Regions from separate parts of the Homo sapiens genome. Here regions 2, 3, 4 and 5 are each linked to region 1. Evidence: promoter capture Hi-C in human tissues and cell types (Jung and others, 2019). All regions are on one chromosome and are shown on one strand. The core of a region is centred on a gene start or on the middle of the fragment in contact, and the rest is flanking DNA. Distances in the headings are between cores, read along the strand shown.

Region 1 (2,772 bases), core at 123-2,622:
TTTTTTGCAAAGTCCAGTCAGATTATTGACAGTGCCTGTCTGCCTGACCCGCCCCCGCCCCCCGGCGCCGCAGATCCCTGCTAACAAGTCTCCCAGTGCCATTCAACTCCCGTGAGCCAGCTCCGCCATTCAACAGCCAGCCCACTTTTGTTCCCCCAGTTTAATTTCATAATTGTTTGCCACTTAACAAGCTCTCCTCTGGGCCATTCAATAGAGCAGGGGAAATGGGGAGGGGGAAGGCAAAGAAACTCTGGGAGGGGAGCTGGGAGCCAGGCCAGCCCAGCACTGGGGAAGAGACATCCCAGAGAGGTCAGCTGGACAGGGGTGGGGGCCAGTTCCGGAGTGGAGCCTCCTGACACCAACTGGGCCACCCAGCTTGAGCCCGGAGAGGTGGGAGGGAAAGGAGCAGGGTGAGTTCCGAAGGCCAGGCCGGGGCCTGCCAGACTCCTGGGCACATCAGTGCTCTGAATGACACGCCTCTGGCCCTGCCAGGGTGAAGGGAGACAGCATGAATTCACGCTCCCGTAACATGTCCCAGAACAAACACACAGGAGACAGAACTGCTCCTTAGTTTGGGCATTCCATGATCAACATTCCCTTTGAGGGCTGGGACCTGTCTAGGTAGCCACTGAATCCCCTGGCCGAGCACATAGCAGACAGGAATAAATATGTGTTGAGTGAGTGGATGGATGGATGGATGGATGGATGGATGGATGGGAGGGAGGGATGAATGGATGGAAGGAAATGGATGAAGTTTCCAGCAATACCTAGCAAAAGTGGCCACTCGGCCAGCGTTCGTTCCCTATCTCTTCCCCCCCAAGTGCCAGCAGGGGCTTGGCAGCGCACACAGTAGGCTCTCTACAAGCGGGGGCTGCTATTGTTACCACTATCATCATCACTGGCACTCCACCAGCCCGCTGCTTCCACCAGCTACTCCGCCAGCAGCAGCAGCGACTGGCGAGCAAGGGAAAAGTTTCGCTGACCCCGCGGCCCCAGCCGGAGTCCCGCGCCCTGGCGGAGCCCCCTCCCGCCGCCGCCCGCTAGGCAGGCGGGGCAGCTGGGGTGCCCAGCCCGCTTCCCGCACCCGGCAAAGGCGGCCAAAGTAACTTTGCGGGCGCCCCTGCGCAGCGCCGCGGGCGTCGCCCAGCGCCTGGAGAGGGTCCCGGCCGCGCCCCGCGCCCGGCCTCCCGCCCGCGCCCGCCGCGCCCCGCCCGCCTCCGGTCCTACCTGGCCCCGGGCTCCTCTTCGGCGGCCGCGGCGGCTGCGAGCAGCAGCGCGCACCGAGGGAGGCAGGGGCTCCCGGGAGGGAGGCGCGCAGGGGCGGGGGCTCCTCCGGCGGCGGCCGCCTCGCCGCGCGTCCGAGGCTGCAAGTGGGAGCCAGACTCCTCCTTCGTGGGGCGGGGGGCTCCCCGCGCCCCCTCCGCCGCCCGCCCGCGCGCCGCGAGGCTCCGAGCCTCCTTGGCTCCCCCCGCCCGCCGCCGCCCGCCTCCCCACGCCCGCCCTCCCCGCCTCTCCGCGCCCGGCCGCCGGGAGGGGCGCGCTCGCGGCCTCGGTCCCGGCCCTTGCGCCGCCACCCGCCGGGGCCCCCGCCAGGCCCGCCAGGCCTCGGCCCTCGGCCCCCGCCCGGGCTCGGAGTCCGCATCCCGCTGCGGAGGGACAGGGAGCGCGGCCGCGGGCCTGGACGCGGGAGGAGGAGCGGGGCCCGCGCTGCGGAAAAGGGAGGGGGCCGCCCCACTGCGCCCGGCGCCCCTCTTGGCGCCCGCCCCCAGCCCCGGACCGGGCCGCGCGCGGGCTGGGCAGGGAGCGGGGCGGGGGCGCTCTCACCTCCGGATCCGTGGCCTCCGCAGCGGGCACCGCGTGCAGGGGCGTGCGCGGCTCCTTCCGGGGCGCCGCAGCCTTCGCCCGAGGCCCGGACCCCCTCCTGGGGCCGCCGGGGCACCCTGCTGTGGGCCCCTCCCGCCCGGGGTCTGGAAGGTCCCCCTCCGGAGACGGAGACACTCTGACCCCAGCTCCCAGTCTGAATAGGTCGGGGTCCTCCTCCTGGGCCACCATCTCTTCCACTCGGGAGTCACAGGTCCCCAATCCCGGGCACAGCAGGTAGCCTGCAGCGGCCGGAGCCCCAACGGGATGGGTAAACAAGTCAGGAACTCAGACGGCGCGACACCCAGTGTAAAGAGGCCCTGCCTTGCTGGGAAGAGCAGAGACCATCGCCTTCAGTGTCGGGGGTCACCCTGGGGAGTTTAAGGCCCTGTGGCTTCCAGCCCCTTGCCGCGGGTGGGACGGGGATTCCAGGGCCTTGTATAGTTAGGGTGCAGATCACTCTGGCCTGGGCCTCCCAGACTGAGAGGAAGATGAAAAGGGGCTGTGGCTCCTCAGAGGCCCAAAGCCCCTCAACAAATGCTTGTAGGGTCTCCCTTCACCAACACACACATCACACAATCCCCAAGGACACCCTCTGCGGGCCCCTCAGGCCTATTCTGCCCCTGAGGACTGCTATCTGGTGTGGCTTCCTGGAGGTGGGGACAGCCCAGTTGAATGAGTGTATGCCAGGAGAGAAGGCCTGGAAAAGACATCCAGGCCGAGGGAATGCGGCATGCAAAGGCCTTGGCATGTGAGTTCATTGGGGCTAGAGACAAAGGAAAAGCAAGGGAGGGAAGATGAGGTGGCAAGGCTGGGAGTGAGGGAACAGAAGCCAGATCGGGAAGAGCCTTGGATAGACTTTATCAGGGGCAGTGGGAGCCATAGAGGGTTTTTAAGCAGGGCTGTGACTTG
Region 2 (2,700 bases), core at 50-2,549, 120 kb before region 1:
ACTATAAAATAATTACTAATGCTAACTTTTTTTTTTACACGGAGTTTGGCTCTTTTGCCCAGGCTGGAGTGAAGTGGCGCTATCGGCTCACTGCAACCTCCGCCCCCTGGGTTCAAGCAATTCTCCTGCCTCAGCCTCCCGAGTAGCCGGGATTACAGGCACCCACCACACCCGGCTAATTTTTGTATTTTTAATAGAGACAGGGTTTCGCCATGTTGGCCAGGCTGGTCTCGAACTCCTGACCTCAGGTGACCCACCCACCTCAGCCTTCCAAAGTGCTGGGATTGCAGGCATGAGCCTCTGCGCTAACATTCTTAAAAGCTTGGACTTTCCGGAGGTTTTGTTCATGGCCCCTGCCAGGTGTCTCCTCCAGTCCAGAGCAGTTGGGGCCCTGCACCCCATTACCCAAGGACTGCTGCCTCCTTTGACCCCCCAGCTTCCTGGGTCCTGGATCAGAGGACATCTGAGCCCCCTGCTGCAGTCAGGGTGGCCATGTCTCTGCTCCTAGAGGCACAGGCACTGACCGCCCCATCGCTGTCTTGCTCAGGGATGCCAGCCAGCCTGACTCCATGAAGAGCAACTCACGCCTGAGTGAGACCCCCTGGAGCTTTGGGCCTCCCTCCGCCTTCCTGAGCCCAAGCCTAGTGGCCACTGGCCGTAACCCCCACCAGGGACAGTTCTGAGAGGGCCCTTCCTTGGAACTGACAGGTTTGACAAGAGAAGTTTGAAAATCGTCACTCCGCTTTCATGGACTGTGACTCAGCTGAGAGACTCAGGCAGCGTTTGCCACCTTCTGGAAGGTTCTCCAAGGAACTGGGGAGCAGCAGGCAGGATATGGGGTGTGGGGGGAGCACCTCCCCTCCACCTGGGCCCCAGGCCTTGCCCACCAAAACGCCCTTCCCTGCCCCTGCACAGGGTCCAAATGAGGCCACACCCTGAGGTGAGCAGATCTCTCCCTGAGTGGCAGAGCCGCGCATTGGATGGGTGTGATTGGGAGGACAGGCTCCCGCCCAGCCCGCGCAGGCCTTCTATTTCCTGGAAAATGTTTCCTGGGGTCACCTTTGTTTCCATCTGTCCTTAGTTTCCTCCTCATTTCAGGCTGGACCGCTGCAGGGGGAACGGGGTGCTCAGGCAGCCCCAAGTTCAGGGAAGGGGAAGGGGACCCTGAGTAGGCACATCAACAGGGCCATGCAGTGATTACGGGACAGAGACGCCCTGGACCCCAGCTGCTCCTCCATGTGACTTTGTACCAGGTCCCATCCCTTCAGCGTCCTCATCTGTAGAAATGGTGGGACCACACTTGTGTCACCTTTGTTGTGGGACCTGGGCCTGTGGGCAGCAGATGTTCCCATGAGAGAGGCTTCAGCCCAGAATAAGGAAGGCCTGTGAGGGCCAGGGGCACCAGCCTGAGACTCCGGCCAGAGGCAGGGCAGTGTCAGCTCCCAGTGAACACAGGCATGCCAGACTCAGGCTGAGGACAGGCCAGTGCCAGCAGTCAGTGAGCACAGGTGTGCGGGACTCAGGCCGGGACAGGGCAGTATCAGCAGCCAGTGAGCACAGGTGTGCGGGACTCAGGCTGGGACAGGGCAGTATCAGCACCCAGTGAGCACAGGTGTGCAGGACTCAGGATGGTACAGGACAGTATCAGCGCCCAGTGAGCACAGGTGTGTGGGGCTCAGGCTGGGACAGGGCAGTATCAGCGCCCAGTGAGCACAGGTGTGCGGGGCTCAGGCTGGGACAGGGCAGTGCCAGCACCCAGTAAGCACAGGTGTGTGGGACTCAAACCCAGCGCTTCACACACATCATCATTTAGACTCCTGTGAGCATCCCCATTTGACAGATGAGGAAACTGAGGTACCGGAAGTTTTCCAGAGTCTCACAGCTTGCAGGATTTGGCCCAGACAGTGAGTAACAGCCCAAGCCAGTGTCAGAGGCCCTGAAGGTGGGCGGGCAGGCTCCCCTGCAGGCAGCACCAGGACTCACTCAGCCCTGTGCCCACATCCCTGCCTCCAAGCCCTGGCTCCTGCTGGCTCCTCCTTCTGGGACTACTTCTGTTCTCATCTGCACAGCCCGCGTACTCTTCCTCTGAGGCCCAGCTCCAATCCTCCTGTAACCCCTGGGCAGAGGCTGAGCTCCCCGTTCGATGCTGTCACCGCTTGGCAGAGAGAGTCACTCCCTTCTGCACCCACTGCTGGGCCCAGACTCCACCCATAGGGTGAGAACACTGACCTGCGCCCCCAGCCTGGCACACAGCAGGTGCTTTAATGCTGGCAGGGCACAGCCTCTGGGTCCCTTTCCCAGAAGGAAAGCTGACCAGGTTCTGCAGGGAGTGCTGGCAAGTTGGGGAGCAACTCTGGTGTTGGGGGCTTCTCTGTGGATGGAGTCTGTGAGTGCTGGACTCCCCATAGCACTAGGAGGTGGCTGTGGGGTCAGACCCACATTCTCTTGGCCACATCTCCCAGCTTCTGGCAAAACAAGTTCTGGATCTTCCCATGCATGTCCCACCAGCACTGCTGGCACCACACTCTGACATAACAGTTTTAAAATGCAGTCTCCCCTGTAAAAACAAATCAGGTGACACTGAGCTTTCAATGAGCTCTGGAAAGAAGGCTTGGCATCTGCCGGCTGTTATTCCAACCCCAGAAATTGAAAGTGTGTCCCCAAATTTGCAAAGTAACCTATTAAAATCCCCACCATGAT
Region 3 (2,734 bases), core at 158-2,657, 120 kb after region 1:
GATATAAAGGAGACTCAGATCTGTCCTCACCCCAGGGCGGGGACAGGATAGGCAAGCCCTCTGGTCCAGGGCAGAGGAAGGAAGTAGTGAAGGAAGGCAGGCCTGGCCTGGAAGCCGGGGTGGAGTGAATTATGCTGGGCACCAGAAAGACTACACGGAGGAGGAGGCTGAGCACTGGGCTTTGGAGAGGTGGGCATGGAGGGGCCAGGGAGGTTTGTAAGCATCAGCACCTGGGAACCTTCGTCACTACCGCCATCGGACTTGAAGGGTCGTCATTCACAGCTGAATCCTGCGGGAGGAGAGGGAGGGCTTTGGATTCATGGGGCTTCCAGTTCTCTTTCTGCCTCTTTTAGAGCTTTGAGGAAATCTCTCTCCATCTCCAGGCCCCAGTTTTCTCACCTGAGAATCAGGGATAATAAGAATAATGCCCCCGGTGTGGAGCTGTTGTGTGGATTTATTAAGATAATGCCTGAGCTGGGGCCTCGCTGGCAGCAATTGCCGTTATTTATGGTAGTGAGGCTGGCAACCCCGCCCAGCCTCAACGCTCACCTCTGTGTGAGGGCTTGGGGGTGGGCTGGGATTCTCACACGGGGCCAGCCACACAGGACCCATCCATGCACTGACAGTCAGTTCCACGGGGCAGAGAAGGAGGAGGGCTGCACACACCACAGGCATTCCAGGAGGACTTCCTGGAGGACGCAGTCTGCAATCCCTCAAGCTCTGGGAGCACTTCCCAGGGATAAGGCCTGGGCATCGCCCACAGGCTACAGGGCAAGACAGGGGCAGAACTCAGGGAGCCTGACTCCCAGGTGTGGGTTCCCCTTTTCCATGAGGACACCTCTCATAATAGAGTGTGCCAAATGCTGGGGGACCATGGGGCGGTGTGTGCTGGGCTCACAGCACCTCTTGGAGAGGGCCAAAGTACTGTTTCTCATAGTGCCCTGCCAGGCCTGGCCAGGGCCTCCAAGTGAGCCCAGTCTGTCCTGGGCTCATGGGCGGCATCTCACAGACCCAGCTGCTGCAGTTGGATGCTCTTCAGACCTCAGTGTGGGGCCCACTTGAAGTGCTGGAGACACAGGGGTGCAAGAGGCGTGTGTGGGGCCTCAGGCCCTTCCCTAGAGATGCTGGTCATGGCCTCAAGCCACCCAAGAGATTTGGCAGCCATGATTTCCTCCCCTCCTCGGGGGCCGGGGGTGAGGCCTGTTTGGACCGCAGTGGGAAAAGGGTGCAGAGGGGCAGCCCCCTCTTCCCACCTGCTTCATCTCAGGACTTTATCACTTGGGAGTGGGGACAAGACATGTTTACATGGCCCTGCATTTGTTTCCCATTATTCATCAGCACTGGCGAGTCATTGTTCCCTAGTAGAGTAAACAGCCCTGTCCCAAGGCCCAGCCGCCCTGCCAGGTCACTGAGGGTTTGTAGATGCCTTACGTCAACCGCCCTTTGCTTCAAGCTTTCAGTGAGGTGAGGAGTGGCCAGGCCAGATGGCTGCAGATGGGCGGCGCCAGGGAGCTTCCTCGTGACAGGGATGAGGTAGCATTTCTGCACTGGGAACTCAGCATTTGAGAGTCTGTGTCTGTTTGGTTTGCTTTACAGTCGGACCTTTAATAGGGCTGGGGAAGCCAAGGCGCAGAGCAGGGAATCTGAGAACCATGAGAAGGAAGGTAACAACCGTGACATGAGAGGGGTCCGAACTGAGTCCCAGGGACAGCTGCCCATGTCCAGGTCCCATTGTTAAGTGTATGCCAGCACAGTTCTCTACAGGGTCTTATAGGCCCAGAGATGGGACTAACCCCAGGAATGCTGGGTCCTTCCCGATGCTCCTCACGGCAAGCTGCATCTGGGGCTGACGTGCACGTGCTCAAGTTGACACTGGACTCCAGCTCGTGTGAGGAGCAGCCGGCTCTTCGCAGCATTGGTCTGAGCACATGCGCTGACGCAGCCAGCTTAGCCTGGGGCCAAAGGCGCGTGTTCTGCAGCCAGACCGCAGGGCTGGGTCCCGCCTTCACTCTGGTGTGCTGTGTCACTCTACTCAAGCTACTCCAGCTCCCGGAGCCTCCGTGTCCTCATCTGTAAAATGGGGTCAATAACATGACCTGTCACCCAGGTAGCTGTGAGGATCGCGTGGGCCTGCGCCTAACACATAATAAACACTCACAGATGTTTGCTTTGTGTTGTTAGCAGGATGAGTAGGACACGGGGCCTGGCTTGGTGCTTTTCATGGTCCAGTGCAGGCTGGAGACAGACCCCAGGGGCAGACATGGCTGAGGCTTGGAGGGGAGGGAGGCGACCACTCGCCACCCCTAGGGGCTGCGCCCAGCAAAGGTGGCATGGGCACTGGGCCCCTAGGGGGTCCTAAGCAAGGCTTTGTTGAATGGAGAAAGGTGCTGAGGATAGTCCCTCTCCCTCCTCCCCAGGCTTCCCCAGTCAGAATGGTGCGATCACCTGGCTCCTCTCAGCGAGGGCCACTTCTACCATTTTAGCTGTAACCACTGGCGGCTTTTAGAGTTCAGAGCTCTGCCTGCCTCCTCTGACTGCCCACACGGCTGACATTTGAGCTTGCCAAAGAATAATGGCCTCGCTGTCGGCCTCAAAGGCAGCCGTGTGGTGTCTTAGGTGGTAAAGTGGTCTGTCGTCCATGAGTCTAAATAGGACCTGGCTCAAATCGCTCCACAGCCAAGTCCTCTCCCAGTTCAGTGCAGGTCACCAACTCTTTACCTTTTCACATCCTTTT
Region 4 (2,700 bases), core at 85-2,584, 73 kb after region 1:
CTTGGTGTCCCCATCTGGAACCCAAAGGGACTAGATTTAAACTCCTCCAAGGACCCTTCTGGCTCTAAATTCTAGAATGAGGAGAGTGGGGGGAGGGTTGGAGCTATGCTTTGGGGGGGGTAGAATGAGGAGAGTGGGGGGAGGGTTGGAGCTATGCTTGTTGGGGGGGTAGAATGAGGAGAGTAGGGGAGGGTTGGAGTGATGCTTGTGGGGGGATAGTGAGGAGAGTAGGGGAGGGCTGGAGTGATGCTTGTGGGGGGATAGAATGAGGAGAGTGGGGGAGGGTTGAAGCAATGCTTGTGGGGGGATAGAATGAGGAGAGTGGGGGGAGGGTTGGAGCTATGCTTGTGGGGGGTAGAATGAGGAGAGTGGGGGAGGGTTGGAGCAATGCTTGTGGGGGGATAGAGTGAGGAGAATGGGGGAGGGCTGGAGTGATGCTTGTGGGGGGATAGAGTAAGGAGAGTAGGGGATAGAGTGAGGAGAGTAGGGGAGGGCTGGAGTGATGCTTGTTGGGGGAGTAGGACAGACGGAGGAGGAGGTTCTTCCTCACTGTCTCCTTAAGCCTCAGTTTTCTCATCTTTTTAGCAGAACAATAGCTCAATGGGATGGTTGCGACAATAAATAAGGCCAAGCGTATTGATAGCATTGTCCCTGCCACAGAGTAGCTGCGCCAAAGATGCTACCAGTTGCCACTTGTCACACCAGATTGTCCTGTGACAGCTGTTATTGCCAATGAGCCCACCGATCAATGGACGGGCAAAGGCAAGAGCTCCCCCTGCCCTACACTATCGGCCACCTGCCCTGGGGCCACACCTTACCTCTTATTCCCCCCACACCCCTACCCACAGGGTCAGTCGACGTGGATGAGTGCTCAGAGGGCACAGATGACTGCCACATCGATGCCATCTGTCAGAACACGCCCAAGTCCTACAAATGCCTCTGCAAGCCAGGCTACAAGGGGGAAGGCAAGCAGTGTGAAGGTGAGTCCAGCCCGGCCCTCCCGGGCAGACCCTGAGGCTGCCAGGGCTGCTGTAGGTGGCCGATGCCTGCCCCATTCATCACCAGCTGGGGCTGAGCCTCCAGCACCACCATTGTGGTTGCTGACAGCACAGGCTTCTCTCAGCCTCAGGAGGGAGGCAGTGAACTTTTCGGAAATGCCGGCTGCTTCCCTGGAAGGGTGGAGTTAGAGTCATGGGGTGCCTGATTCTCAACTGGGCTTGAAACTTTTTGTTCTTTTTAAGAAATTGGCTGGGTGCGGTGGCTCACGTCTGTAATCCCAGCACTTTGGGAGACCGAGGCAGGCAGATTACCTGAGGTCAAGAGTTTGAGACCAGCCTGGCCAACATGGCAAAACCCCATCTCTACTGAAAATACAACAAATACAAAAAAAGTTAGCCGAGCGTGGTGGTGCATGCCTATAATCTCAGCTACTCGTGAAGCTGAGGCAGGAGAATCACTTGAACCCAGGAGGCAGAGGTTGCAGTGAGCCGAGATGGCGCCACTGCACTCCAGCTTGGGCGACAGAGCAAGACTCTGTCTCAAAAAAAAAGAAAAGAAAGAAAAAGAAATTAAGATGAAGCATTGAATGAGGTATTTGTGCATCTGTCCTTGACTGGCTATATGGGGGTGGAGTGCAAAGACCTGGGCTTGCCCCCCGACCCCCAGAGTCCCTAACGTCAAGTTCAAAACCACCCTGTAGGTCTCTGTCTCAAGTTCCAGTGCTTGGACAGACACTGGTGGATTTGTGCCATCTGTCTCTCCAGCCTTTCTGCCCTGCACCTGGGGTGCTGGTTAGCCCTCCTGCTATTAAAAACTGCCTCCCCAGCAGGCTAAAAGTTAGAGAGAAAAGAGCAGCTCTGGCTGTGTTTGGTGCCAGGACTCTGCAAGCCCATTGGAACCTTTGGAGCTTTTGTCCATGAGAGTCTGCATGGCCGTCCTCACCCCATGGGTCTGGGGCAGGACTGGGCATCTGGGGGCTGGAAATAGCTCTCTCCGAGACAGACAGACACCCCTGGATGGGATCACTGATCCCAGTCTTCCCTGTCTGCACCCATCGTATAAATGAGGAAAGCTGAGGCTCAGACAGGAGAAGCATCTTTTGCAAGATTCCCATGTTCACAGTGATATGACAAGGACTGAAATCCAGGTCTTGTAACTCCCACTCAACAACTCTGGCAGCTAGTTTTCTTCTCCCTGGGCCCTGCCAGCTGAATTTTTCCAAGTTTGATATTTGTATTAGGAAAGTGACATGGGAGCACAGGATGGGTCCCTGCTCTTTCTGTATAAGGCGTTTACAGGGCTAGAGTTTTGTGGGCGATGCAGCCACTCCTCCCTGGGATGCTGGTGGTGTTTATCCTTCACATTTGTTGAGCATTTATTTAAGGCTGAGTGCTGGGCAGATGACATCGCCCTGGATCATGCCTGGTTGGGTAATATTCCTGGCACGCTCAGGGCCCAGAACCCAAAGTGGGGAGCTGGCGCCTACCCACAGACCTCTGGAAGGAGGCCAGGCTGGAGGCACACAGAGGAGGCCATGAGTGAGAAGCCTGGTGGGGCGGCTGGCCCGGCTGCTGGCAGGGCCAGAGGTTAGCTCGCTGGTTCGAGTGGTACATGTGAGGCTGGTGTGACCGCTTTCTGACCCTCTACTCTGCCTTCCAGACCCAGTGTCCCGGAAAGGCGGGGCCATGGTTGACCCCCCTA
Region 5 (2,803 bases), core at 178-2,677, 94 kb after region 1:
TCCCACTTTGCATGCAAGTGTCTAGTGTCTCTCTGTGTCCTAATCTCCTCTTCTTTTTTTTTTTTTTTTTTTTTTGAGATGGAGTCTTGCTCTGTCACCCAAGCATGCAGTGGTGTAATCTCAGCTCACTGCAACCTCCACCTCCTGGGTTCAAGTGATTCTCCTGCCTCAGCCTCCCAAGTAGCTGGGATTACAGGCGTGCCACCACACCTGGCTAATTTTTGTATTTTTAGTAGAGACTGAGTTTCGCCATGGTTGCCAGGCTGGTCTCGAGCTACTGACCTTGTGATCCGCCTGCTTCGGCTTCCCAAAGTGCTGGGATAACAGGCGTGAGCCACCTTGCCCGGCCAGCCACTGCGCCTGGCCCTAATCTTCTCTTCTTATAAGGACACAGTCATATTGGAGTAGGGCCCACTCTACAAACTCCATTTTTAAGTTAATTATCTCTCTAAAGGCCCTGTCTCCAAATACAGTCACGTTTTGAGGTACTGGGTGTTGAATTCCTTCAACAAAGGAATTTTGAAGTGACACAATTTGGCCCATGATTTTATATACCTCCATCTTCTCATGGTCCAAATACATTTTTAAGCCAATTGTATAAAATTTATAAGAGGTCGGGTGTGGTGGCTCACACTTGTAATCCCAGCACTCTGGGAGGCCAAGGCGGGTGGATCACCTGAGGTCCGAAGTTCAAGACCAGCCTGACCAACATGGCAAAACCCTGTCTCTACTAAAAATACAAAAATTAGTTGGGCGCATGCCTGTAATCCCAGCTATTTGGGAGGCTGAGGTAGGAGGGTCACTTGAACCCAGGAGACGGAGGTTGCAGTGAGCCAAGATCACACCATTGCACTCCAGCCCGGGCGACAAGAGTGAAACTCCATCTCAAAAACAAAAAAATAATTACAAGAGTAGTCCACATTTGCTGAATCAAATTGGAAAAAAGGAGAAGAGTAGGGAGAAGAAATTGGCAGGCGTCTTAGTTGTGCTGGTGTGTTTTCTATCAGTCTTCCACCTGCATCCAAGTGTGTTTTTACCATAGTGGTGATCAGATAGTCAGCATGCATTTGCCCTTTGCTGTTCCCTTTAATATCATGCGTACCTCAGGCATTTTGGTTTTCTTTTGAGACAGAGTCTTACTCTGTCACCCAGCCTGGAGTACAGTATGGCTCAGTGCAGCCTTAACCTCTGGAACTCAGGTGATCCTCCCACCTCAGCCTCCAGAATAGCTGGGACCATAGGCACATTCCACTGCTACTGGCTAACTTTTGGGTTTTTTTGTAGAGACAGGGTCTTGCTATATTGCCCAGGCCTCTGGAACTCCTGGGCTCAGGTGATCTGCCCACCTCGACCTCCCAAAGTGCTGGGATTACAGGCTTGACCCGCCACCTTACCTCAGGCATTACTTCAGGTATTTTTATGTGGCCCCTGTTACCACTATTTTTCTAGTTGCCCCACAGTCTGACAAATTACTAATAACCTGTATCAGTTTCCTGGGGCTGCCATGACAAAGTAACAAACTAGGGCTTAAATAACAGAAATGGATTCTCTTGGTTAGGAGTCCAAACTCAAGGTGTGGGCAGGGTAGTTCCTTCTGAGAGCTGCAAGGGATCATCTGTTCCAGGCCTTTCTCATAGCTTCTGGTAATGTCAGGGATTCCTTGGCTTATAGATGGCATCCTCCCTCTGTCTTCACATTGTCTCAGCTCTATGTGTGTCTGGCTCTGTGTCCAAATTTTCCTTTTTTATGAGGACACCAGTCGTGTTGCATTAGGCCCACCCTAACAATCTCATCTTAACCTGGACATCTGCCAAGACCTTATTTCCAACAAAAGTCACATTCACAAGTACTGGGAGCTGCGAATCCAACATCTTTTGAAGGGACATAATTCAACCTGTAACAGAGGGAGTTCAAAGTCTGTCACAGAAGAACAATATCTTGTCATGGGAAACACGTGGCTCTCAAAGCAGACGTGTCTGTCCCCAAGGCCCTCTTTTGCCACTGGCTGCTGGGTAACCAGGGCACAGCAACTGGAGCCCAGGGGATATGGGCATGGATTTGGCAGGAGCATGTCCGTAGATACATTATTGATTGTCTGGGTCTCAGGCCCTTGTTGGTAGAGGGAGGCTATGAGAAGCAGCTTCCTCACAGGGTTGTCGTGAGCAGTGACTGAGATAATGTCCAGATGGCCGAGAAAAAGGCTCGGCACAGGGGACTCTCAGCAGCCGAGAACTGTTACTATCTACATGGTGTCTGAGCCTCAGTCTTCTCCAGTCTCCAACAGGGATAACTGCGTAATCCACTTCCCAAGATCGCGTGTGAGGATGAGGTGACAGTGTGAAGTGACTAGCCCCTATTAGGTGCTAAATAGTCAACGCAGGCATTACTACTCCAGCTGACTCGGCTGCCTTTCTGTGGTTAGACATTTAGATTGTTTGCTTTTTTGTTTTTTACCATGAGAATCCAGAGGTGGTTCTGGGCATAAAACATTTTTTTCCCCTGTTTTCCCAATCGTTTCCTTAGGAATGCTTCACAAAAGTGGAACCACTGGATCAAACGACCATTTGGTTTTTTATGGCTTTCTAAAAGGGCTCAGCAAAGCTTCTGTTGTGCCAGCTGGTTTGTGGGTGTGTGGTAGAGGATACTGGGTGTCCTGAGTGCTCTGGAACTTTCCCTCTTAATGGGGTGTTAGCCTTAGACCTGCCTGCCTGTTTTTGTCCAACCCATGTTGGATGTCAGATAAGTTTGTTGTGGAAAACATCTGTGAGCATGTAATTACACCCCGAATAAATACCCAAGTAGA

What was found. Contacts are between HindIII fragments. The study calls those that stand out against the background at their distance.
Region 2: a contact is called between a fragment that was not itself captured here and the fragment with the promoter of MPPED1 in region 1, in 4 of the 25 tissues and cell types used here (IMR-90 fibroblasts, dorsolateral prefrontal cortex, lymphoblastoid cells and 1 more).
Region 3: a fragment that was not itself captured here is called in contact with the fragment with the promoter of MPPED1 in region 1 in 2 of the 25 tissues and cell types used here (bladder and mesendoderm cells).
Region 4: a contact is called between a fragment that was not itself captured here and the fragment with the promoter of MPPED1 in region 1, in 3 of the 25 tissues and cell types used here (dorsolateral prefrontal cortex, neural progenitor cells and thymus).
Region 5: a fragment that was not itself captured here is called in contact with the fragment with the promoter of MPPED1 in region 1 in 6 of the 25 tissues and cell types used here (H1 embryonic stem cells, IMR-90 fibroblasts, liver and 3 more).

What each region holds. Positions count from the first base shown.
Region 1 is chr22:43,410,614-43,413,385 of GRCh38, reverse strand. MPPED1 (metallophosphoesterase domain containing 1) reads right to left here and starts at 1,372. Exons shown (of 7, transcript NM_001044370.2): 1 at 1,228-1,372. The HindIII fragment of the contact is 18,974 bases long and covers 1-2,772 here.
Region 2 is chr22:43,525,883-43,528,582 of GRCh38, reverse strand. All of the region lies in intron 2 of EFCAB6-AS1 (EFCAB6 antisense RNA 1), which reads right to left. Among named protein-coding and RNA genes, the nearest start is that of EFCAB6-AS1, 11 kb to the right of the region's middle. RefSeq lists an enhancer at 391-890. The HindIII fragment of the contact is 6,308 bases long and covers 1-2,700 here.
Region 3 is chr22:43,292,659-43,295,392 of GRCh38, reverse strand. All of the region lies in intron 3 of SCUBE1 (signal peptide, CUB domain and EGF like domain containing 1), which reads left to right. Among named protein-coding and RNA genes, the nearest start is that of SCUBE1-AS1, 18 kb to the right of the region's middle. RefSeq lists enhancers at 1,356-1,650, 1,711-2,228. The HindIII fragment of the contact is 5,423 bases long and covers 1-2,734 here.
Region 4 is chr22:43,337,384-43,340,083 of GRCh38, reverse strand. SCUBE1 (signal peptide, CUB domain and EGF like domain containing 1) reads left to right here. Exons shown (of 22, transcript NM_173050.5): 2 at 849-980. Among named protein-coding and RNA genes, the nearest start is that of SCUBE1, 4.6 kb to the left of the region's middle. The HindIII fragment of the contact is 5,295 bases long and covers 1-2,700 here.
Region 5 is chr22:43,316,831-43,319,633 of GRCh38, reverse strand. The region is part of intron 3 of SCUBE1 (signal peptide, CUB domain and EGF like domain containing 1); the gene reads left to right. Among named protein-coding and RNA genes, the nearest start is that of SCUBE1, 25 kb to the left of the region's middle. The HindIII fragment of the contact is 7,519 bases long and covers 1-2,803 here.